Regions from separate parts of the Homo sapiens genome. Here regions 1, 2, 3, 4, 6 and 7 are each linked to region 5. Evidence: promoter capture Hi-C in 16 types of primary human blood cells and fetal thymus (Javierre and others, 2016). All regions are on one chromosome and are shown on one strand. The core of a region is centred on a gene start or on the middle of the fragment in contact, and the rest is flanking DNA. Distances in the headings are between cores, read along the strand shown. Region 1 overlaps BLVRA (biliverdin reductase A). Region 2 has its middle 23 kb from the start of MRPS24. Region 3 overlaps UBE2D4 (ubiquitin conjugating enzyme E2 D4). Region 4 holds the start of URGCP-MRPS24 (URGCP-MRPS24 readthrough). Region 5 holds the start of PSMA2 (proteasome 20S subunit alpha 2). Region 6 holds the start of MRPS24 (mitochondrial ribosomal protein S24). Region 7 overlaps GLI3 (GLI family zinc finger 3).

Evidence for each region. The method cuts DNA at HindIII sites, captures the fragments that hold promoters and counts their contacts. A CHiCAGO score of 5 or more calls a contact.
Region 1: a contact is called between a fragment that was not itself captured here and the fragment with the promoter of PSMA2 in region 5, in 2 of 17 cell types (non-activated CD4 T cells and naive CD4 T cells). The highest score is 6.4, in non-activated CD4 T cells.
Region 2: a fragment that was not itself captured here is called in contact with the fragment with the promoter of PSMA2 in region 5 in 6 of 17 cell types (naive CD4 T cells, total CD4 T cells, total CD8 T cells and 3 more); the score reaches 13.1 in naive CD4 T cells.
Region 3: a contact is called between a fragment that was not itself captured here and the fragment with the promoter of PSMA2 in region 5, in 2 of 17 cell types (total CD8 T cells and non-activated CD4 T cells). The highest score is 9.1, in total CD8 T cells.
Region 4: a contact is called between a fragment that was not itself captured here and the fragment with the promoter of PSMA2 in region 5, in 2 of 17 cell types (non-activated CD4 T cells and total CD4 T cells). The highest score is 7.8, in non-activated CD4 T cells.
Region 6: a contact is called between the fragment with the promoter of MRPS24 here and the fragment with the promoter of PSMA2 in region 5, in 10 of 17 cell types (naive CD8 T cells, total CD4 T cells, naive CD4 T cells and 7 more). The highest score is 21.2, in naive CD8 T cells.
Region 7: a contact is called between a fragment that was not itself captured here and the fragment with the promoter of PSMA2 in region 5, in 1 of 17 cell types (endothelial precursors). The highest score is 5.1, in endothelial precursors.

The regions. Positions count from the first base shown.
Region 1 is chr7:43,802,220-43,805,669 of GRCh38, reverse strand. It overlaps BLVRA (biliverdin reductase A), which reads right to left. Exons shown (of 8, transcript NM_000712.4): 7 at 1,823-1,994. Among named protein-coding and RNA genes, the nearest start is that of BLVRA, 45 kb to the right of the region's middle. The HindIII fragment of the contact is 6,752 bases long and covers 1-3,450 here.
Region 2 is chr7:43,844,695-43,848,076 of GRCh38, reverse strand. No RefSeq gene overlaps it. Among named protein-coding and RNA genes, the nearest start is that of MRPS24, 23 kb to the left of the region's middle. The HindIII fragment of the contact is 2,656 bases long and covers 346-3,001 here.
Region 3 is chr7:43,929,579-43,932,855 of GRCh38, reverse strand. The region is part of intron 1 of UBE2D4 (ubiquitin conjugating enzyme E2 D4); the gene reads right to left. Among named protein-coding and RNA genes, the nearest start is that of UBE2D4, 4.8 kb to the right of the region's middle. The HindIII fragment of the contact is 5,962 bases long and covers 1-3,277 here.
Region 4 is chr7:43,905,364-43,908,769 of GRCh38, reverse strand. URGCP-MRPS24 (URGCP-MRPS24 readthrough) reads left to right here and starts at 2,174. Exons shown (of 7, transcript NM_001204871.2): 1 at 2,174-2,208. The coding sequence starts at 2,195. It overlaps URGCP (upregulator of cell proliferation), which reads left to right and starts at 2,174. Exons shown (of 6, transcript NM_001077663.3): 1 at 2,174-2,208. The coding sequence starts at 2,195. RefSeq lists silencers at 1,749-1,908, 1,969-2,398. The HindIII fragment of the contact is 3,554 bases long and covers 4-3,406 here.
Region 5 is chr7:42,930,694-42,934,376 of GRCh38, reverse strand. PSMA2 (proteasome 20S subunit alpha 2) reads left to right here and starts at 2,203. Exons shown (of 8, transcript NM_002787.5): 1 at 2,203-2,259. The coding sequence starts at 2,219. It overlaps MRPL32 (mitochondrial ribosomal protein L32), which reads right to left and starts at 2,001. Exons shown (of 3, transcript NM_031903.3): 1 at 1,861-2,001. The coding sequence starts at 1,990. RefSeq lists an enhancer at 1,823-2,052. The HindIII fragment of the contact is 5,414 bases long and covers 1,903-3,683 here.
Region 6 is chr7:43,868,032-43,871,360 of GRCh38, reverse strand. MRPS24 (mitochondrial ribosomal protein S24) reads left to right here and starts at 1,844. Exons shown (of 4, transcript NM_032014.3): 1 at 1,844-1,904; 2 at 1,985-2,053; 3 at 2,287-2,398. The coding sequence starts at 1,866. URGCP-MRPS24 (URGCP-MRPS24 readthrough) reads left to right here. Exons shown (of 7, transcript NM_001204871.2): 5 at 1,985-2,053; 6 at 2,287-2,398. The coding sequence ends at 2,375. It overlaps LOC124901620 (a long non-coding RNA gene), which reads right to left and starts at 1,715. Exons shown (of 2, transcript XR_007060296.1): 1 at 527-1,715; 2 at 1-413. RefSeq lists an enhancer at 1,363-1,482 and silencers at 1,713-1,772, 2,073-2,132. The HindIII fragment of the contact is 8,402 bases long and covers 1-3,329 here.
Region 7 is chr7:41,979,311-41,982,672 of GRCh38, reverse strand. All of the region lies in intron 10 of GLI3 (GLI family zinc finger 3), which reads left to right. Among named protein-coding and RNA genes, the nearest start is that of GLI3, 260 kb to the left of the region's middle. The HindIII fragment of the contact is 731 bases long and covers 1,388-2,118 here.

The DNA.
Region 1 (3,450 bases), core at 765-3,264, 870 kb before region 5:
AAGAAGTTACTATTATATTATATTAACTGCTCTCTGTCCCAATCCCTCATCTGATGCTTGCCTCTCCTGTGCAAAAATGAGAGCCAGGGCTGGGTGCAGTGGCTCATGCGTGTAATCTCAGCATTTTGAGAGGCCAAGGTGAGCAGATCACTTGAGGTCAGGAGTTCAAGACCATCCTGACCAACATGGTGAAACCTTGTCTCTACTAACAATACAAAAATGAGCCGGGCGTGGTGGCAGGCGCCTATAATCCCAGCTACTCGGGAGGCTGAGGCAGGACAATCACTTGAACCCGGGAGATGGAGGTTGCAGTGAGCTGAGATCACACCACCGCACTCCAGCCTGGGTGACAGAGCAAGACTTTGTCTCATAAAAAAAAAAAAAAAAGAGAGAGAGAGTCAGCCTCTGCCTCCCCAACATCTTGCTTCCTCATTGACTTCTACTCAACTTCAAGACCAAACAAGGCACCGCCTCCCATCAGAACCATGAGCTGACCTAGTCCAGGTTCCCCTTCCCTGTGCTCCTACAGCACCCTACAGTATCTTTACCTCTAATTACAGGGTGCTACAACTGTCTGTGTATAGGTCTGACCACGGCTGCAATCCTAACACTCACATGGCCACACCAGAGCCCGGGCCACCACTGTTGGTCACTCCATAGGGAGCACTGCCAAGTTCCATGTGCTTTGCTTTCATCTGCCAGGCCTCTCTGCCTTTTCCTAGCGAAGAAGAAACTCCTCAAAATGGACTAGATCAGGCTTCATTCAGGAACTCAAATTCTTTTTTCTTTTTAAAATACCCAGTGTCTGCTTCTTTTACTACCAGGAGACCCACCTCTCTGCAAAGGCATCCAGAAACACTCTAAAACCCTTACTGTTCTAAATAATTTACAGAGCCCAGGTGCTTTGGGAGGAAAATTATGAATGTGCTTTTGTTAAAAAAGACCTGGTATGAGAAATAAGTCAGAATGTTTTGGGAACAGTGTGACAGGGTGATGGGATGCTAAAGCTGAAACACAGACCCTCACACTCTGGCTGCACTGAGGGGTGAATGTGTGGCCCTGCGGGGAACATGTACAGTGTTAATGGCAGGGTCTAGGGAGTAGGTGGATGGGTGTTTACTTAAAAATTCTTTCAACTTCACAATATGCCCGAAAACTTTCATAAGAAAACACAGGAAAAAAATCAGGTCACAGAGTTAACATAATTTCTTTTTCTTTTCTTTTTTTTCAAGAAGGAGTCTCGCTCTGTTGCCCAGGCTGAAATGCAGTGGCCTGATCTCAGCTCACTGCAACCTCTGCCTCCCAGGTTCAAGCAATTCTCCTGCCTCAGCCTGCCAAGGAGCTGGGACTGCAGGCATGCACCGCCACACCGGCTAATTTTTGCATTTTTAGTAGAGACAGGGTTTCACCATGTTAGCCAGGCTGGTCTCAAACTCCTGACCTCAGGTGATCCACCACCCTTGGCCTCCCCAAGTGCTGGGATTATAGGCCTGAGCCACCACGCCCAGCCAAGGTAATGTAATTTCCACTACTAATCTGCTATGAATGACTTGCATGACTTAGGCAACCTGCTGGCATTCTGTAAGCCTCTGTCTACTGACTGGCAGATGGGATTATGTTTGTCTTCTTTACCTCACAGGGCTGCTGAGAGGATGAGATGAGGCAACACAAGTGCAATCTCAGCACTCCATCTGCAGAAGCAGACAGCCCTTCTGGAGCTGGGAGTGAGGGTCTAGCCCCTCGGGGCTCCCTTTGGATCATACCTGCAAATGTACTAGGATGTCCTTAAATTTCCTCCTCCTCATGGCTTCTCATGACTTACCTTTTCTTCTCTGTCTCCAGACACACTGTCATTTTCATATACTGATCTTCCTTTCGCTCTTCCAAAGTGGCAGACACAAGAGAAAGCTCCCCAAAGAGGGAGACCAGCCAGGTCAGGCGAGAGATGCCGCTGAATGCAGGGAAGCCAAACCGCTCTTCTTCCAACGGGCCAGCTGTGGGAAATCACAAATGCTGTGGGAACTGGGAAGCAGGAATGCCAAGTGGAAAGCAGGACAGGGGGGTGGGGGTGGCGGGGGTGTGAAAAGATGTGGCCGAGTGATCAGTACAATGGGACCTTGCCTTATGTGGTAGGCAGGCAACGTGATTAATGATACTGATGAAAACTCAGGTGGCTGAACTTCAACTCTATCATAAAAGCATCTCTGTCTTTTCCTGTTTATTAAATTGAGTTTTAGTAAAACATTCTACTGGAAACAGCAGTCAATCCAGCCAAACAGGATAATAAAAAAGTTTCAGGCTTCTAATATATACATCTATGTACACATATGTAGATATACATACACACACACACACACACAACACATACCTACATATACATATATATATATCCTCTTTAGTGATTTAAAGTAGTCTGGTAAAAGTAGAAGAATCAAAGTATTTTAGCCCTGCAAGCCTGTATTCTTATAACTACCTGATGTGTAAGTGGCAATAAGGTATGAAGGTATTATAATAGCTATGGAGAAAATGGTAATACCTTTGAGCTATTTCAATATCAAGAAAATTGATACAATGTTAAATGTTTTCTTAGTCTTCCTAATCTTGTGAACAAAAAAGTACACTCAAAAGAGTATTGGGGCCAGGCGTGGTGGCTCACGCCTGTAGTCCCAGCACTTTGGGAGGCCAAGGTGGGTGGATCACTTGAGTTCGAGACTAGCCTGGCCAACATGGCAAAACCCCGTCTCTAGTAAAAAAAAATACAAAAATTACCCGGGCATAGTGACGGGTGCCTGTAACCCCAGCTACTTGGGAGGCTGAGGCAGGAGAATCACTTTAGCCCGGGAGGCAGAGGTTGCAGTAAGCCTAAAAAGGCCACGTACAGTAGCTCATGCCTATAATACCAGCACTTCGGGAGGCCAAGGCTGGCAGACTGCTTGCGCCCAGGAGTTCAAGACCAGCCTAGGCAACATAGCAAGACTCTGTCTCTACAAAAAAACACACAAAATTAGGCGGGTGTCGTGGTGCACACCTGCAGCCCCAGCTACTCAGGAAGCTAAGGTGGGAGGATCATCTGGGCCTGAGGAGTTCGAGGTTACAGTGAGCCATAATTGTACCACTGCATTCCAGCCTGGGTGACAGAGTGATACCCTATATCAAAAAAATATATATATATAAACATAAAAAAGAGTATTGGTGTGAGAAATCCATTTGGTCAAGATACTGCTCCCGTCTGCCTCCAGCCAAAATCTTAAACATAACCTAAGTTTAAAAGACTTCATATCTGTTACATTACATTATAAACAAAACATTTCTTATGACCTTGATATTCACTTAAAACAATGACTAATAACAATGAGTATATTCTTAAAAAGTAATAAGTTATATATAAAACCAAACAAAAATTAGAATTTTCATAGACAATATGGTTTGAAATCACTGGGGCCTAAGTAT
Region 2 (3,382 bases), core at 424-2,923, 910 kb before region 5:
GGTCTCACTCTGTTACCCAGGTTGTAGTGCAGTGGCTCACTGAAACCTCTGCCCCTCCAGGCTCAAGCTATTCTCCCACCTCAGCCTCCCAAGTAGCTGGTGACCACAGGTGTCCACTACCACGCCCAGCTAAGTTTCTTTCTTTTTTTTTTTTTGTAGAGATGGAGTTCTGCTACGTTGCCTAGGCTGGTCTTGAACTCTTGGGCTCAAGTGATCAGTCCATCTCAGCCTCCGTAAGTGCTGGGATTACAGGCATGAGCCACCACTCCTGGCGCACCCCCCAACCTTTTTAAAGGAAAATGTATAAATAATAAACCTCTTTGGGAAAATACAGTCACAGAAGCTTCTGTGACTCCTGTTTTCCCAGGCATACCCTCTACTTGGCTGAATAAACTTTGATGATTCACGACTTAGGTCTAAATCACTCATTTTGGTGGTCAACTGTCAGCTCACAACAGTCCTTAAAACTTAACAATTTCCTCTTGTGAGCCGGTATAAGCTAGCCTCAGCACTCCACTCCACAAAATTATTTACTTTCATCATTTGTCCATATGACAAGCAATGAAATGTCTGGCAAAGATTTCCAAATATAAGCAAACATTTTATATGTATATATATATTTTAAAAGTATATCTTAATATACATTTATATATTTATATACTATAATATATAAGTATTATAAATATATGTATTTATATAAATATAATATATAATATGATATTTATATTATAAATATATATATATATATTTTTTTTCTTTTTGAGATGGAGTCTTGCTCTGTCACCCAGGCTGGAGTGCAGTGGTACAATCTCTGCTCACTGGAACCTCCACCTCCCGGGTTCAAGCGATTCTCCTGCCTCAGTCTCCTGAGTAGCTGGGATTACAGACGTTCACCACCACGCCCAGCTAATTTTTTGTATTTTTAGTAGAGACAGAGTTTCACCATGTTGGCCAGGCTGGTCTCCACCTCCTGGGCTCAAGTGATCTGCCTGCCTCGGCCTTCCAAAGTGCTGGGATTACAGGTGTGAGACACTGCGCCTGACCACAAACACATATTTACTTTATTTTATTTATTTATTTTTTTGAGATGACTCTGTTGCCCAGGCTGGAGTGCAGTGGCACTATCTCAGCAACCCCTGCCTCCCAAGCCCAAGTGATCCTCCCACCTCAGCCTCCCAAGTAGCTGGGACTACAGTCACACATCACTGGGCCTGGCTAATTTTTGTATTTTGTGTAGAGACAGGGTTTCACCATGTTGCCCAGGATGGTCTCAAATTTCTGGACTCAAGCAATCAGCCCACATTGGCCTCCCAAAGTGTTGGGATCACAGACACAAGCCACTGTGCCCAGCCTGCAAATATATATTTAAATAGATTCTAGGCTTGTGTTTGAAAAGAGGAGTAAGAGCAGACCTCACCAGCCCATCTGGCCTCTTGTTTCCAGTGGTCAGCATCTGAGAAGTGAGCAGAGGCCTTTCTCCCATGCCTCCTCCTGGATGTCCCATGGGCACCACCTCCACATGCTAGTTTCAAGCACAGGCTACCCTGGTGAACAGACCACATTTGGAAATGCATATGTTTCTGTTTGTTTTCTGGCCCAGAGCCCATTCGGTAAGCTGAGTTTTTAGTGTCCCCATTAAGGACAGTGACAACAGTGACAGAAGCTCATTCACTGTCAGTGGCAGCCTTGACTTTAGGGCCCCAGGGGCTGTCCTCCCTTTATCCTGCCTGGCTCAGAAGATGCCCACAATGGTTTATCAGTGAGTCCAAAAGCATGGCCCCAGCCCCCAGGTGGGCTGCCTGGATTCTGCTTTGGGTCATGGGCCTATATCTTCCTACCCTCAATCTGCTGTCTTTTCACCCAGAGCACAGTTGCCAGAGCCCCAGAGGGTGTGCATGGCTCAGAGATTGGCATCCCCAGCAGGCAATGGCGTCAGGGTGGGGGCTGGCTGGTTTTGAGAGAGTGGAAAGAGTTTCCAAGTCAGACTGATCTGGACGGGGGTCACTGGCCCACCAAGTCACTTTCCTTCTACAAACTATTGTGAAGATGATAATGTTATAGCTCAATGGGTTCTTCTTACCTGCTGCACAGATAAAGCCAATGCATTGAGATAGTGGCATTGGAGCAGAGAAAGAGTTTGATTATCACAAGGCAGCTGAGTGGAAAGACAGAAGGTATTTCTCAAATTGGTCTCCCTGAGAATTTGGAGGCTAGGGTTTTTAAGGACTTCTTTCACGGGCAGGGGGCCAGAGAGTGAGAAATCCTGATTGGCTGGGTCAGGGATAAAATCATAGGAACTTAATTCCTGGTGGGGGGTCAGTGGTCTTAGTGGCATCAGTTGTTCCACCGGAATGCAAAGCCTGAAAAATATCTCAAACACCAGTCTTAGGTCTTACAATAGCAATGTTATCAATAGGGGCAATTAGGTACATTACAAATTATAAATCTTGTGACCACTGGCTACATGACTCCTGAGCAGTAAGCAAGTTACAAAACATGACTAGTTGTCATTTATTTAATTTAATTTTTTTTTGTTTTGAGACAGGGTTTCACTCTGTTGCCCAGGCAAGAGTGCAATGGCACAATCATAGTTCACTGAAGCCTCGACCTTCTGGGCTCAAGCAATCCTCCCACCTCAGCCTTCTGGGTAGCTGGGACTACGGGTGCATGCCACCACACCTATCTAATTTTTTGTATTTTCTGTAGAGATACGGTCTAGGCTGGTCTCAAACTCCTAGGGTCAAGCGATCCACCTGCCTTGGCCTCCCAAAGTGTTGGGATTACAGGCATACCCACCTTGCCTGGCTTGCCTAGTTATCATTTATCTATGCATAGGTCTTAGCAGAATTCAGACCCCTCCTATAATTCTAACTTTGTGGTCTTTTATTAGTTTTACAAAGGCGACATCCATCCCCAGACAAGTAGGGGGGTAGTTTTGGGAAGGTACCATTGCTATTGCTTTAAGGTTAAACTGCACACTAAACTCCTTCCATGGCAAGCTTGGCCTACACCCAGGAATGAGCAAAGACAATCAGCTTGTGAGGTTGGAAGCAAGATGGAATCAGTTACGTCTTTCACTGTCATAATTTTTGCAAGAACAATTTCAGTAAGGCCTATTCAGAGCACTTAGCTATTGGCAGCCACTCTGGTGGTGGAAATGGTGACAGTGGCAGTGACAATGATGATGATGATGATGGTAGTGATGATGACAATAATGACTACAATGATGAATCGCCCCCATCCCACTGGGCAGCACTGCACTGGTGAGGGATGTCCCTCCATCCCCACCTTTATATACAGAACCTTGTCTTTTACAACCCTCCCAACTCCAGGACAGTCTTCCTGTGGGTGAGCCTGGAGGTCATCACTGTTTCAAAGGGAA
Region 3 (3,277 bases), core at 562-3,061, 1.0 Mb before region 5:
CTTTAATTTTCTTTTTTTCTATTATTATTTTTTTATTATGTATTTTATTTTTATTATTTTTTTGAGACAGGATTTCGCTCTGTCACCCAGGTTGGAGTGCCGTGGCGCCATCTTGGTTCACTGCAACCTCCATCTCCTGGGTTCAAGCGATTCTTATGCCTCAGCCTCCCGAGTAGCTGAGATTACAGGCACCTACTAATATGCCCGGCTAATGTTTGTATATTTAGGAGAGACAGGGTTTTGCCATGTTGGCCAGGCTTGTCTCAAACTCCTGGCCTCAAGTGATCCATCCACCTCGGCCTCCCAAAGTGCTGAGATTACAGGCGTGAGCCACCCTGCTTAGCCAGGTATTTTCCAAATTTTCTTTAAAGTACATGTATTGCAAAATATATGTGTTAAATATGTATTGATATAGTTTGGATCTGTGTTCCCACACAAAACTCTTGTCAAATTGTAATCTCCAACGTTGAGGGTGGGGCCTGGTGGGAAGTGATTGGTTTAGTACAATCCACTTGGTATTATCCTCTTCTCACAAGATCTGGTTGTTTCAAAGTATGTCATGGGCCAGGCACAGTGGCTCACTTTGTGCCTGTAATCCCAGCACTTTGGGAGGCCAAGGCGGGTGGATCACGAGGTCAGGAGATCGAGACCATCCTGGCTAACATGGTGAAACCCCGTCTCTCCTAAAAATACAAAAAATTAGCTGGGTGTGGTGGCAGGCGCCTGTAGTCCCAGCTACTCAGGGAGGTTGAGGCTGGAGAATGGTGTGAACCTGGGAGGCAGAGCTTGCAGTGAGCCGAGATCGTGCCACTGCACTCCAGCCTGGGCGACAGAGCAAGACTCTGTCTCAAAAAAAAAAGTGTGTCATGGCCAGGCACAGTGGCTCATGCCTGTAATCCCAGCACTTTGGGAGGCCCAAGTGGGTGGATCGCTTGAGCTCAGGAGTTCAAGACCAGCCTGGCAACATGGCAAAACCCCGTCTCTACTAAAAATACAAAAAAAAGTAGCCAGGCATGGTGGCACACACTACTCCAGAGGCTGACACAGGAGAATCAGTTGAACCAGAGAGACGGAGGCTGCAGTGATCAGAAATTGCACCACTGCACTCCAGCCTGGGTGACAGAGACCCTGTCTCAAAAATAAATAAATAAATAAATAAAAGTGTGGAGCACCTCCCCTTGTTCTCTCTCTTGCTCCTGTTCTGGCCATGTGACATGCCTGCTCTGCCACCCCCCCCGCCCCCCCACCCCGGTTTGCCTTCCACAGTGAGTGTGAGTTTCCCCTCCTCTGAAGCAGAGCAGACACTAGTGCCATACTTCCTGTACAGCCTGCGGAACTGTGAGCCAATTAAAACTCTTCTTCCTAAATTACCTCATCTCAGGTTTTCTGTTTTGTTTGTTTGTTTGTTTTTTAAGATACGGTCTTACTCTGTCACCCAGGTTGGAGTGCAGTGGCACGATATCGGCTCACTGCAACCTCCACCTCTGTCTGGCTCAAGCGATCCTTCCACCTCAGCCACCTGAGTAGCTGGGACCATAGGCACATGCCAAGAACCATGCCTGTCTAATTTTTTCTATTTTTGGTAGAGCTGGGGTTTTGCCATGTTGCCCAGGCTGGTCTTGAACTCCTGAGCTCAGGCCATCCACCTGCCTTAGCCTCCCAAAGTGCTAGGATTACAGGCATGGGCCACCTCATCCAGCCTTCAGGTATTTCTTTTTTTCTTTTTTTTTTTTTTGAGACAGAGTCTCACTCTATCACCCAGGCTGGAGTGTAGTGGCATGATCGCTCACTGAAACCTCTGCCTCCCGGGTTCAAGCAAGTCTCCTGCCTCAGCCTTCCAAGTAGCCAGGATTACAGGCACATGCCACCATACCCAGCTAATTTTTGTATTTTTAGTGGATATGGGGTTTCACCATGTTGACCAGGACCTAACCTCAGATGATCTGCCCGCCTCAGCCTCCCAAAATGCTGGGATTACAGACATGAGCCACTGTGCCTGGCCAGGTATTTCCTAACAGCAATGCAAGAATGGACTAATACACGTATCAAAGAGAAAAAAAACCATTAAAAAATTGAAATGCTGCCACATATAACCCTGTCCTGGTTGAGAACAGTGGCTCACACCTGTAATCCCAGCACTTTAGGAGGCTGAGGTGGGAGGATTACATGAGCCTAGGAGTTTGAGACCAGCCTGGGCAACATGGTGAAATCCACTCTCTACAAAAAATTTTAAATTAGCCAGATGTGGTGGCAGGCACCTGTAATCCCAGCTACTGGGAAAGCTAAGTGGGAGGACTGCTTGAGCCCAGGAGGTCAAGGCTGCAGTGAGCTATGATTGAGCCACTGCACTACAGCCTAGGTAACAGAGCAAGACCCTGTCTCAAAAAACTAACTAACTAACTAACTAACTAAAAAGTGCATCTAAAAATATTCAATTTGAAACATTCATTTGAAAACATTTTTTTAAAGGGTTGAAGTTGGTTAGAAAGGGCTGTGGATTGGAAACTAAGGGGGCAGCTAGTAGACACCACACACCTGGCTCAGGCTTGCATACTGCTGGCTACCTGCTCAGCACCCATCCGCCTTCCTCCTTTCTGAAGGACTGCTGTTCAGTTCTGGTCAACTCACTGTCAGCTCCAGGTCTAAGAGTAACCAGACTCCTTGCCACTCATTGGTTTCGGAATGAGCATGAGACATAATTCATAACAAGGCAAAGGGAAAAAAAGATCTGCTGGGCTTTCTGAGAATATTCTTATCAGTTCTTCTGGAAGCAGTTGTCTCTATTACTCCCAGATGTCCAGCAGGCTGTGTGTTCCAGAGCCATTCAGCCCAGAGTGACACAGGAACAGACCAGGAGAGGGGGACTGAGTTGCTCCCAAAGTCCTGCCACAGGACCTCCAATTCCATGCACAAGGGCAGCTCAGCCTCTGTCACTTGCAGCCAAGACATCCTAACTAGTGGTGGCCCAATGGTGCCATCTCACCACGGCAGGCTTGACACACTTTTAAAGTTGTATTTCCTACAATTCTGTTGTTTTTCCCCAGGAATTGCTACAGAATTTGCAGGGCCTTGTGAATGTGAAAATGTAGGGTCTCAAGTTCGATAATTATTAAGAATTTCCTGATAGTGACAGCAGAGCATAAAACCAAAGGCAGAGCCCATCCAAGCCTGGGGCCCTGTGAGAGTGAATGCGTCACACACACATGAAGCCAGCCCTGACCTTGATTCTTGTTTTGCTTTTGTTTTAAGACAGGGTCTCACTCTGGTTGCCCAGGCT
Region 4 (3,406 bases), core at 531-3,030, 970 kb before region 5:
GCTTGTAGACCATCTTGGCAAAACAACTTACAGGAGGGGAGAAAGAGGAATTCTTTCAAGGGGCAATAAAGGATTACTAGGGAGAAGGAATGGATCAGGGCACAGAGATTAACTTGTACGCTATCCTATGAAAGGGTCTTTTCAGGTGTGGTTACATTCTTGGTCTTACAGGGAGGGCAAGAAAAACAGTTGTTCTCCTTGGAGGGTCTGGACTTTAAGCAGATAAAGACATTTTCTGTTTTGGGAGAAACCAGTGGGGAGGGAGATCAGAGAGACCTTGAGACTTCTTCAGTTCAGCTTGTTAAAGTGCCATATTTTGGGGTTATTGGTTTCTGAACCAGATTTTATGTCAGTAAACATGTATTCCTTATGTTTAAAAGAATGCTTATTTAGGCCAGGCATGGTGGCTCACGCCTGTAACCCCAGCACTTTGGGAGGCTGAGGCAGGCAGATCACCTGAGGTTGGGAGTTTGAGACCAGCCTGACCAACATGGGGAAACCCTGTCTCTACTAAAAATAGAAGAATTAGCCAGGTGTGGTAGTGGGCGCCTGTAGTCCCAGCTACTGGGAGGCTGAGGCAGAATTGCTTGAACCCGGGAAGTGGAGGTTGCAGTGAGCCAAGATCTCGCCATTGCACTCTGGCCTGGGTGACAGGGCAAGACCCTGTCTCAAACAAACAAAGAAAAAATTCTTTTAGTTTGATCTCCTTCATTTCATTACTCCCTTGAATCAGGCATTTAGGATTTAGGATTTCCCATTCCTCAAACTCTTCCTAACTCTGGTCCTCCTGGATTTGTCCTTATTTTGGGTGTCACAAGTTCGCGTGGCTTTACCTATCAGCTCCCATTTACAGAGCATTAATTATCTTCTGAACTCAAGGTAGCAGTTATGAATTTCTTTACCGAAGAGGACAAGGAGGCTCAGAAACATTGACTGGATTCTCCCAGGAGGAAAAGAGACCATGCATCACGCAATGTTTACTAACATTTAAAAATAGTTACAAATGTTTACAAATATTAATTCATTTAATCTTCACAGAGAGGAAGGGACTTATTTTTAGCCTTATTTTTCAAATAAGGAACTGTGGCCCTGGAAAGGTTCTATCTTGCAGGGGCTCCTGGGGCTGGTAATTGGTGGAGCCCAGATTCCAACACAGGTATTCTGGCTTCAGAGCTAAGGTTTTAATCACTGCTTTGCTGTCTTGTATTCTTAATAGTAGTAAACATTTTTAAATAGTGGTTGTTAATGATATTTTACTTTTAACTTTAATTTTATTTTTAAAAATGAAACGGGCGGGGCGGGCAGGGGGTCATCTCAATATGTTGCCCAGGCTGATCTCAAACTCCTGGGCTCAATCGATCCTCCTGCCTCGGCCTCCCAAAGTGGTGGGATTACAGACGTGAGCCACTGCGTTCGGCCAGTGATATTTAATATAATACTAAAAATGTTATCAACAATGGTTTACATTGTCCAGAGCTTTTTATTAAGCATTTTCACTTAGATCATTTTTGGAAACTCATTTTGCAGAGAGAAGAACTGAAGCTGAAAAATCTACCTGCCTAAGGACTCATAACTTGTAAGAATAGTTGTGAAACCTCACTGGAGGAACTGCAGATTCATTATTTTTCTTAATAACACACTATAAAGAATAATAAAAGTGCTTCGCATTGCCTAGAGCTTCACAAGGCCACTTTATACACATTTTACAATGGGTACCGTCTCAGAGAGGCCAGCAACTCGTCCAACACAGCACTGCAAGTAAGAAGTAGGAAAGTTATTGTTTTGCTTAATAATAAGGCCTTACGCTTCAGGGCTAAAGAAAAGCCTTTTCTTACAGAAATTAAACTCCAATTACAGAAAGGTGTGAAGTTCAGTAAGGCCCTGGGGCAGGTTATCCTACAGCTTTTGGCACCGCAGGCACCGCCCGGCGAGTTCCGGCCTCCAGGCACCTGGGCAGGTGGGCGTTGGGCGGGCTGCGGGCTGACCTGGGCCGCCCCGCCCCCACCCCGCCCCAGCTGTCCCCGGGCTGCTCCGAGAGGACCCCGGGCCCACCTTACCCCACCTCACCCCACCTCCACCCCTGGAGCGCGTCCCGGAGCGGGCGGGCGGCCGGCGGGCCAGGCCCCTCCCCGGCGCCGAGCCGCGGCCGCGCGGAGGAAGCGAAGGAGGCGGGAGCGGAGACCTCGCTGCGCTCATGGCGTCGCCCGGGTGAGTGCCGCCTCGCAGGCCCTGCGCCCCCGCGGCTGCCGGCAGGAACGGGAGCGGGACCCGGAGCGGCTCTGGCCTGCGGGCTCTGGTCTGGGATGCGGCCCGGACCCGGCCAGGGGCGCCCCCGCCCGCCAGGCCCACCAGGCCCACGGCCCGCTCGCGCCGACCTTGGGCGGACCGGCCGCGCGGGCGTGGGGGGCGGGCGGGGGCGCCGGCGGAGGACAGCGGTCCCCCGGGATGCGGGGGTCCGGGTACGCGGGCCTAGGGGATCCGGGGAGGGCGCGAGGCCCGGAGGTGCCCGGGGCGCGGCGGGAGCGAGGGCCCGGCGAGCGGCTGGGGAACCGGGGTGCGGGTCCTCGCCGCGGCCCGGGGCAACCCGCGGAGGCCTGGAAATGCTTCGCTCCGGCGCCTGGTATCGATGTTCCTGGGTTTTAAACTTGCTCGCGTTGGGAGTGGACGCTTGTTTGCCGCGTCGTTGAGACGTACCCAGAATGTCAGGATCCGGGCAGATGCAGACCCTTTGCTGACAGCCGGAGAGCCGCTCCGGGATCTCCTTGGTCGGGGCCATTGCCTACCGGCCTGCCTTGGGGTGGCTGCGCTTATTTTGATATTACCTCTTTTCAACTTTTTTGATTTAAATGTTATTCCTTTTAGGAAATGATGGCGACACATATAGTTTGTAATTTTTGAGAAAAAATTCTCACTTGGCAAACTAAAACCTCAGTAATTCATTATTTTTTTGTTTTTTGTTTTGATAATTTTACTAGTACTGAAATTTGGGAATGACAGTCCAACACTTTCATTTTACAAAGAAAGAAATTAGGCTCAAGGTCATCGCTTTAGTTGTTAAAATTCTTCTTTGACTGTTACCCATCATTCAGAGGGTCTTGGATCTAGTGGCTGTGATAGCCATTCAGAACAGTTCCCAAAGAGCTTTACAGGTGTGTGTTCAGTGGTAGGGGTGGGGAGGGGACGGTGCTAAGGGGCCGGGATCATGGATTTCGTGCCTCCTCCAGATGAGGCCTGAGCCATGCCCTGGGGTGATTTGGCTCAGTACAGTGGGCCTGAATGAAGCAAGCTGAATTTGAACCCCGCCTGCTGTCTTTCTAGGCTTTGGGGCAGTGGTCATTTCCGGGACCAGGCCTTTTCATTGCCAGCTGACTACCCAGCACTTTGAGCTCATGAATAGAGTAAGCAG
Region 5 (3,683 bases), core at 954-3,453:
TTATGTGACTATCAAAGTTTCTCTTTTTCTGAATTGCTTATAAAATCAACATTCCTTTACCCTTTCCTTGCTATTTCTTAGACGTGCCATACTTTTTTTTTTTTTTTTTGAGACTGAGTCTCACTCTGTCACTCAGGCTAGAGTGCAGTGGCGTGACCTCGGCTCACTGCAACCTCCGCCTCCCTGGTTCAAGTGATTCTCCTGCCTCAGCCTCCCAAGTAGCTGGGATTACAGGTGTGCACCACCACGCCTGGTTAATTTTGTATTTTTAGTAGAGACAGGGTTTCACAATGTTGGCCAGGCTGGTCTTGAACTCCTGACCTTAGGTGATGGACCCACCTTGGCCTCCCAAAGTGCTGAGATTACAGGTGTGAGCCACCGCGCCCAGCCCACATACTTCTTTTGATCTTAAGAACTCTTAAAAATACACAAAGTTCTCTAACACTTAACAACTGGCATTTATTTTCAGTATGTCCACAAGTATTGCCAAGCATGCCCCGGTGATTAACAACACAGGCTCAGGACTGTCTGTGAACTTGGGACCATTGTGAGCCTACTGTTTCAGTTGGAAAGTGTATACACCTAATGGGACTGTTGTCAAGATTATCCCAGGAAGTACATGTAGAAAGCTTGGCACATTGCTTGGCATATAGTGGCATATATTTTCTTGGTATATTTCTGGATATTATCACTTTCAGGCTGCTTAGAAATTGAGTAGAATGTAAATGCCAAAGCCATGACAGTTTCAACATCCAAGATACTTCCAATTAAAATTAATTCCAAGTGAAACATGGGAAACAGAATTCAGCTCCTCAGAGCTCAAACACCACAGAAAACATGTACTGCGCGGGAGGGAGGGAGGAAGGGAGGAAAGAAGGGAGGGAAGGGAAGGGAAGAGGAGAGGGGGGAGAGGGGAAGCGGGAGGGGAGGTGAGGGCAGGGCTGGAAAGGAAAGACAGATCCAGAGAGTGGTGAGCCTTGATGCCAAGTGAGACCTGCAGAACTGTCCTCTCAGGACAACTCTGTACAAATCCCTGAACTCCACAGACTTGACCAAACTCTAGCATAGTTTCTAGCAGCATAAGGCTGTATCCTAGGATGACCTCGGCCCCCCCTTTAAAGTGCCTGCCTGAGAAAGCTCAACGCTGCCTGGAAAATTTCCTATTTATTTTGGCCAACATACCCCGATAGTAGGTCCCGAACTCCCTTAGAGCATTTCCTGGAAAGGGCATATAATTGTAAATACGTATCCCTTGCAACTAACTCGGAAGCTTTTCTTTCAAGGCCCTGAGAGCCATTCCTTCGAAATCTAATCATTAGGAAGGATAGGGCCTTTGTCTCCCAGTCTCTGCGGGAGGATAGAATTCTCCCTAAGACAACTGCGAGCTAGCAGACACAGCCGGCTAATCACATTTGCACTGACTTCACTATACTACACTTCTCTGACTCTACAGAGCCCCTACACTCCCGCCTCGCTCATTCTCCCTTTAAAACGCCCAAAGTCACCTCTGCACAAACCGGGATGGAGCTCAGCTCTTTACCTGCAGTAGTTACTGAATAAAATCTGTTTTCAGCGCTTTACTTACTGGCTGGCTATGATTTATCTTTGACACAAGCTTGGGTTACATTCTGTGTACGAATGGAACAAGCAGAGGAATTTTTTTTTTTTTTTTTTTGCGGTGGAGGGAGCGCAAAAACAGTCGTTCTGTTCTCGCTAATATGGGAATGTCACGAACTACGTCCCCGACATGAGGCCGCGGATCAGAACCGGGGCTGAGGGCGAACTGTGTAAGCTGCGTCTGCTACGCTGCCCGAGGTCCCGTCATCAGCCCCCTCTCCCACGGAGCCCTTCTTTACCTACCCCACGGAGGACTGGGAAAGCCCGGCCGGCTCTGCGGAAGCTTCCGTAGCAGTCGCTCCCAGTAGTTTCGAAGCACTCCCCGGGCCGCAGACCACGGCGAAACCACCAAGACCAGCATGGCCAGCGCCATTTTCCCTGCTGGAAGACCGCCCCGGTCCCGCCCCTGCTTTCAGCATGCGCACAGGCACAGAATCGGGCAAGCCTCGCTTCTTAGAACTACAACACCCCGCATGCTCTTGGAGCAGCTCTGACTCTCCTCCAATCATAGAGAGTAAAGGAAAGGTGAGGGGCGGGGAAATGAAAGGAAATCGGCCACAGTGCGCATGTGTGCGGCTGTGCTTTGGCTCTTCGGGTAAAGATGGCGGAGCGCGGGTACAGCTTTTCGCTGACTACATTCAGGTATGGAAGGGGCCCTCGAGGTCTTCAGCGTAGTCGAGGTTGCTGGTACTCTGTCGATTTAGTTTTTCCCATCCTGACGTCGGCATTGGTGCTTCTGGAGGGTCCAGTAGGGAATGGAGTTGGAAATGCGGCTTTGCAAAGTCATTTGCCAGGCCGACCCGGGATTCCTGGAGCTTCCTTGGTCGGAGGCTGCTGGAGGGTCGGGGGGATGCGGTTTTGCGGGGTTAACATGGGGCTGCGGGACGGTGAGGCACATAGCCAAGGATTCGCTTTCACTTTGGAGACCAGAAAAGAAGGCAGTTTTAGCTTAACCATCTCTGGGTGGCCCGTTCCGAACTCAGGATTTTTTTCCTGGCTCAAGTAGACCTGATGCGGTGGTTTCTGAAACTTGGAATCTTGGTCAAATATGTGGGGTTCCCTTTTCTTGGAAAACTCTCAGCTTTACAGTTAAGTCGGAGTCTTGGTCTCCATTTGGCACTAGTGTCTTTCAAAACCTCCCGCTTTCGGTTTCTTCGATGCACGAATTAGAAACATAAGGACTAAAAACCGAAAGCCCCTATCACTTTTTTGTGAACCCCTAACAACGAGGCAAGTTTGAGTTTTGGTCTTTTTTTGGTGGACTGGGGGGAACGTCGGGGAGGGGGATGTTTACTTTAAACAAGATTGTAGGTTTTTCTATTGTAGAAAAGGGGATTAGAATAATAAGTTTACTTTCCAAAATACAGTTGGGGCGAACCATGGCTCTCAACGTGAGAAAACCATCGCCGAAGACTTTTAAAAATTGACTGGGGAAGTTTTCTGACTTACCCATTTTCTTAAGGATCAGTAATGCCCAGTTTACTTAAAATGTACTCCTGACAACTGAAGGCAGGCGGGATCTAACTTGTTGAGTACTTTGTTAGGTGCAACTTAACCTTAACCTGCTCCATCTCTTTCCACTGCTATAATGAATGTTATCTCAGCTTCTTACAGATGAACTAACCGCAGCTTGTACAAATTAAACAACTTGTCTAAGGTCATCGGTGAGTAGCTGAGTTGACATTCAAACTGGGTTTTTTTTCTGATAACAAAAATACACTTTCCATTACATAACGTTGTCTTAAATTCCAAAAGTACTTTTCTCTTGGCAGTTTTCAGTAAGCAGTGGGTGTATGTAATAGTTTTTTTGTAACCTTTGAACGAGATTAATTTAATTATGCAATAAAAGGTCTCATTATATTACATATGACAGAATAGTGTGTGCAGGATGTATTCACTGTTCCTATTTATGAAGAAAACAAATGTGGTCCTTTTTTTAGGGACAGGGACTTGGCAGCCTCCAGCTCTTGGGCTCAAGGGATCCTCCTGCCTCAGTCTCTGGAGTAGCTGGGACTAGAGGTGTGCACCACCCTGCCTGCTAATTTTTTTTTTTAAGGCATGAGGTC
Region 6 (3,329 bases), core at 595-3,094, 940 kb before region 5:
TCGTGGTGTGGCCCCTGCCCACCTTGGGCCCCAATAGGTGTTGTGCCATTGCCACCTCTGCCTCTGATCAGCCCAAGGATCTTGTTTCCCTTTCTCCTTCCCCTTTCCTCTGATTAGGGTGGTGTTGCTATGAGTTCTCACAGAACCCTCAATAGCTGGCTCATCTCCCTAACGGGATATGTGGCTATCAGGGACTCGTTAAAAACAACAACAAAACCCACAACTGCTCTCTCCCTCTGCCAGGCACATCATACTGTACTTCTCACAACCACCATTATTGTCCCCAGTTTACAGATGAGAGAAACCGAGGCTCAGAAGGTTCAGTCACTTGTCCAAATTACACAGCCAGGAAGCATTGGGTCCACGATTTGGACTCAGGCAATTCAGATGCCACATCCCATGTTCCTCACCACCTTGGAGCAAATTAATGAAACTTAACAATTATAAAATTATTGAACATTATGAAAACTTTAAAAAATAATTGTCAGTTGAAAAGGATTTCTTAGGAAATGTTGAAAGTTCTTACATTTGCAAAGTATGCATTGGAGGGCACCTCATCCCTGTTCTGTCCCTTTATTCAATATGCATAACAGTTGGGGGCCGCAGTTCCTAAAAAGTAAGAATAAAACATTTCTGGTGAAGTGGACATGGAAGACCTTGTCCTTTTATTACGGGTTTTTTGAGAACCCACCTTCATGTAATCAGAGGAATCTTGGTCATGGGAAATGGGCTGGACTGAAGTCAAGAGACTTGTGTCTTGGTCCCTCTTTCCCTCTTCTCAGTGTGGTCATGGGCAACTCATTTCCACCGTTCTTCCATTTCCCCTTCCCATGGATCATAATCCAGTCCTCCCCCTGACAGGAAACCGCAGCAGTATGCAAGTACTGTACCATTAAGGGGAATGATGTAGACCCAGAACGGCCAAAACATTGGCAATTTCACATCACTCAACCAAACACAACCCATCATTGATTAAATATTCTCTTGATCCTAATAGCTCTATAAGGTAGTACTATTATTAAGGCCCATTTTATAGATAATAGAACTGAGTCTTAACTGTACAAAGATTGTTATACATGGGTCTGACTCCAGAGCCCGTGTTTTTTCCATGACCGTGGTGACTTCTAAAATAAAATATCCCGCGTTGCTATTTTTCCGTTTGACATTAATAATTACTGGATACCAATAATAGTGGCGACGCACTGGTTTCAGCATTACAGGCCCTGCGATATTCTCACGAATCTCCTTGCCCTCCGGCCCCTTCCCCGTACTTAAAATTTTCCTTCCTCAGGGGCCAGTCACCACTGTGGTCACATGTGGCAAACCCATTCTTGCATAACTGCGTAAGTCATCCTTGAAGAATTGGGTGACGTTTTAACCAAAATATGTTTCTTCTTTATTTGTGGATAAAAGTCTGGAGGGTTTTTCTGTTTTGTTTTTCTACGAATATTATTTGGAGGCATAACTAGGACCTGGGGAAACGCTTGGCTCCTCTTCGAGCCCCGAGGGTGCAGGTTGGGCAGGGCGGGCTCCGGTGGGCCGCACACCCATCACCCGTACTAGCGTGAGGTTGTCGAAGAGAAAATCTCACGTTTCGCATCCTCAAATTTCCGGATCTGAAACCCTATGCAAGCAGCAACCGCGGGAGAGCGAACAGCGGCGGGATGAGCATTCACAAGGCTGAGCATTCACAGGGCTGCGGGGAAGGCGGGAGTAACAGCTAGCAGCATACCGCGGCCCCGCCCCGCAGAGGCCCTGCCCCGCCCCCGCCAGAGTACAGAGTACGAGCTCCGACTTGGTCTCGTCCGCGGTCGTCCCCACCCCTCAGCGCGCTGTGGTACGTCCCGCGCTCCGCTTGGCCCAAGATGGCGGCCTCCGTGTGCAGCGGGTTGCTGGGGCCACGGGTGAGTGGGGCGACTCGGCAGGTCCCTGCGAGTCGGAGGTGGGGTCCCTAGTTTCCGCCTCACGCGCCCTCCCTCCACAGGTGCTGTCCTGGAGCCGAGAGCTGCCTTGCGCTTGGCGCGCCCTGCACACCTCCCCGGTCTGCGCCAAGGTGAGCACCGCCGGGGCAGGGGCCTGGGGGCCTGGGGGCCGGGGGGCCGGGGGCCGGGGAAGCCGTGCGGGCTGAAGGGGGCGTGTCGCTGGGGTCCGAGGCGGGGCTAGGGTCGGGGCTTAGGGATCAGGGGATTGGGGCCGGGGAACAGTGCCAGCTGACTGGGGGGACATGGCGCGAAGTAGGGGTCTGGATCGGGGATCTCGTGGAGTCACGGCCCCTTTTGCTCCTAGAACCGGGCGGCCCGAGTACGCGTAAGCAAGGGGGACAAGCCGGTGACCTACGAGGAGGCACACGCGCCGCACTACATCGCCCACCGTAAAGGCTGGCTGTCGCTGCACACAGGTGAGCGGACCCCAGGCCTCCAAAAGGAGCACTCAATCCGACTGTCATGTAAACAAAATGAACACGTGTCACAGGTTTTCTTTAACTCAGGAAATAATGCTAGGGTCAGAAATCTATGAAACCAACTCAAGGGAGACATAAAAAAGCAGAGATATATATAGATCAGGATGTTGAAACAAATTTGAAGATGGATGCAAAACTGACTTTTTCCATGGCAGGCAGGGACTCAATTGATCCTCCACTGAACAGAAATTATTTGCATGTCTACAGACAAGAATTATTTTGCATTCCTGTCAGTTATCTGTAATTTACAGAGCTGTAAAATAGCTCAGAGTCAAGGAAAGGAGTGAAACCGTTGCAGAATCTGATAACCCTGAACAGTGTGCTCTAAGGAATGCAGTTTTCCACTAAAGCACAAATTTTTCTCTGTAAATATATACAGACAACCCTCGTTATTCATGAATTCCATATTTTCAGATTCTTCTACTGACTAAAATTTATTTGTAAGCCCCAAATCAACACTCTGGGCACTCTCAAGGTCACTCTGAGATGTGGGTGGAGCTGCCACCCCAGGTGCATGTCCCGAGCTGAGGTCGACAAGGCTCTGCCTAGTTTCAGCTCTCGTACTGTAAAAGGTGTCCTTTTTATGGTCTAGAATCTTTTTTTTTTAATTTGCATTTTCGTGCTTTTTGTTAGTGATTTTGCTGTTTAAAATGGCCTTGCAATGCTGAAGTGCTATCTAGTGTTCCTAAGCGGGAGAAGGCTGTGACGTGCCTTAGGGAGAACATACATGTATTAGAGAATCTTTCTTCAGTCATGAGTTGCTCTTGGCCCTGAATTCAATGTTAGTGAATCTACCATATATATTAAACAAGGTGTCTTTAAACAGAAACACAAAGGAAACTAGGTTATGTATTGATTTGTTAACAAA
Region 7 (3,362 bases), core at 504-3,003, 950 kb after region 5:
TGGAGTGCAGTAGTGCAAACCTGGCTCACTACTGCCTTGACCTCCTGGGCTCAAGTGACCCTCCTGCCTCAGCCTCACAAGTGGCTGAGACTACAAGCCTATACCACCACACCCTGATTTTTTTTTTAGACATGGGGTCTCGCTGTGTTGCTCAGGCTGGTCTTGGAGCTCAAGTGATCCTCCTGACTCAGCCTCCCAAAATATGGGGATTACAGGTGTGAGCCACCATGCCTGGCCCAATGCAGCTTTTTAAAGGAAAGTAAATATTTAGAACACATGCACATGTTAAGTCTGTGAGTTCTTAGAATTTTAATTTTCACTTGAAATCTAGTTCTAGGAAATATGTTAAGCTTAAAATACATTTGAACTGCTTAAACAGGCAGAGAGATGCCTCCCTTTTTCCTTATAGCAATTGATTACATCCTCTGTGCAGCATTTAAGCAGTAAAGAAGAGGAAGATTGACTTGGTTCCCCAGCCTCCTAGGTGTAGAATTTCATTTAAAGAAAAATAACTGTGGTCTCAATGCAAGTTTGAACTTAAGAGCAGTTCCAGAAAATTGCAAAAATATATTAGTTGGGACTCGGGTCTAAGGGATTGGAAAGGGAACATTCCCAAGATGCTAACCTTATGAAAATGAGGTTGCTTTAAGTGCCCAACATAAGTTTCCCCCACCCCTCCCCACATGGAGACAACAGCAAGGGTGTTCATGCTTGCTGACTGGTGTGGGATTTCCTGCCACTCAAATTTCCACACATTGTCTCAGTGGCAAAGGTAGAAGAAGCTGGGTGCGGTATAAATAGGAAATGATTGGGATTTTTCCAGGCACTGCCCTCCTCCGCTGGTTGCCAGTTCTCCCTTCTCTGCTCAGTGCCGGATCCCTCAACACCATTGTAGGCAGATTCTATACCTTCCCCGTCACTTTGGATAACTAAAGTGTCCAATTTAAACGTCCAATCTCAGGTCCAATCCAGAGCCTTCCCTTCCCTGTCAGCAGCGAGGCACAGGCCTCAAGGGAACTGGCAGGCTGTTTGCCCTCCCTTTGCCACCTCACCTAAAGGAGCTGGGGCCTGGGAGTGCTGCCAGGAGATGCCTTCCCTTTCTTTCTAGGGTCCAGCTCCTCCAGTGTGTTGGATGAGACAGGAAAGGAAAATATGAGAGTCCCTTTTTTTACTGGCCACTGTTGGCACCTCCTTCTTAGCCACCCCTGCTCCCTTGAGTAGCACCAGGTTTCCCTGATGCCCTCCTCTTCAGGGGCAGACATGCAAGCCTGGCTTTCCCCTGGGGTGTATGTGAGTTTTATGCAGGGGTATTTCCCACATCCTCACTGCTGGAGACATGACTGAGCACACAGCATTTTAGGTGAGCCCTGGCAAGCTAACCCAAGCTTACCTACGTCATGGATGTCCACTTGACCCACAGAAAACTCATGCCTTCTCGCCATGCCAAGTGGTGGCAGTCTCTCCCTGGCCAGTTCTCTCCTGCCATGCGTGGCCCTCACGCTGTTCCTCAAAGGCACCAGGCTCTGTTCTTCTGCAGGTACTTCTGTGTCATCGGTCCGCTGTAGTGTCCCATTCTCCTACCCCATCCTTCCCTGCACACCTGATGTGTCTACTCATCCTTCAGGTCCTGCTCTAAATGCTGCTTCATTGGAGAAGCGGACCCTGATTCCTGATGCTGCACACTGACTTATGATCCCATTACATGTTTTTATAAAACCCTGTTATCTCCCTTCATAATGCCTATCACAACTGTAATTGTATAGTAATTTAAGCCATGACCTGTTTCCCTCTGGTAGACTTAATTCCTTGGGGCAAGAATCATGTCTGTCATGTTCTCCAGCACAGGGCCTGGTGTGAGTGGCACCCAGCACATCCTCATAAAAGCATGAGAGAGAACAGGGAACTAATAAGACATGGATCCAACCTTAAGCAGTTGGCTCAGCACAAATTATAATTCAGTTTCCCAATTTTACCTTTTCCTTTCTCCCTCCTGTGTTCCTTCCTTATTCTTCCCTTTCCTTCTGTCTCCCTCACTCTCTGCTTGCCTTCCTTGCTTCCTCCCTCCCTTCCTTCCTTTTTTCTTTCCCTTTCATATGCATTAATCCAAGGATCCAAGCTTTATTTCCAATGACTTGGAAAACTGAACCAAGAGCAACTGTTAGGGAGTGTTTTTGTATGATCATTTCTTTTTCTCCCGTTTGAGAATCCATAGAACCCCTCTGTAAGATGTGAGCTTGGTTTCCAAGGCTGGGCTTCAGCACACATTTGGGAAAGCCCTGGTCTTGTGTATGGGCTACAAAGACTTACTAGAAGCAGACGTGCGGATTGAACGTTGACCCCTGTCCAGAACATCTGTTCTCTTCCTATACCTGTGTGCATCATCATAACTTTAAAGAAACACTGACATGGAGCATGGCTGGCTTTTCATAGGAAACCCACATCTGTTTGCCGTGGGGTTGCTCCCCAACCACTGCAGTTTCTGTGTCATTTTTGGAGCTACTGACGGGACATTGGCTCTCTTCTTGTGTGCTGCAATGTACCACTCTCTCTCTGCTCTTCATCAGATTTTTCTGGGAACTGCTCCAAGGAGAGGAGATAGAGAACAACAATTTCTTTTCTCTGTCCTCACCCAGTTTTAAACTCCAGAAACAGCATAGAAAACTTTACTTTTGTAAAACTTTTTTTTACCTAAAGCGAAAGGCCATCTAGTGGAGTAACTGGGAAAGGCACACTCTGAGGGCAGAACTTCACCTTCAGACTCACAGCGACCACCGCTTTAGGAGCCCTGGACTCAGCAGGAAAGTAATGAGAGGTTGTGTCACTACCACACGAGGCATGGAGCCAAAGGGAGCTTTCTCTTATTGAACGAAGTTTTTTGGTGATGTAGTTCTATGTATACTTCAGAAAGTGTTCCCACAAGCCTTAAATTAAGGCAAATAAAATGTAGAATCACCAGAAAATAAAGACCAACAGCATCAACCTAGGATGCAAATGTCTTCAGTAGTCCATAGCTGGACATTGAAATAGTATGCTCAACCTGTTGAAATTGACCTTAATTTGATTCAAATTAAGAAGCTTCTCTTCCTCTCATGCTGCAGTAGGTTTCTAATGATTCCTAATTGTATTAATCCAAGAAATTAAATGATTCTAAAACCATGAATTGGTAAGTAATTCAGAGAACTTCATCTTTATGTTAAAAACTGTATTAATAGAATTTTAGAGCTAGAAAGTCCCTTAGCAACTAGTGAATCCAGTCATTTATTTTCTACAAGAAGAAAACCAAGGCCCTGAAAGACTAACTTATTTGTTGATGACCACACAGTCCTCTTCCTCAGTATAATTCTTTTCTCTGCAATTCTTAT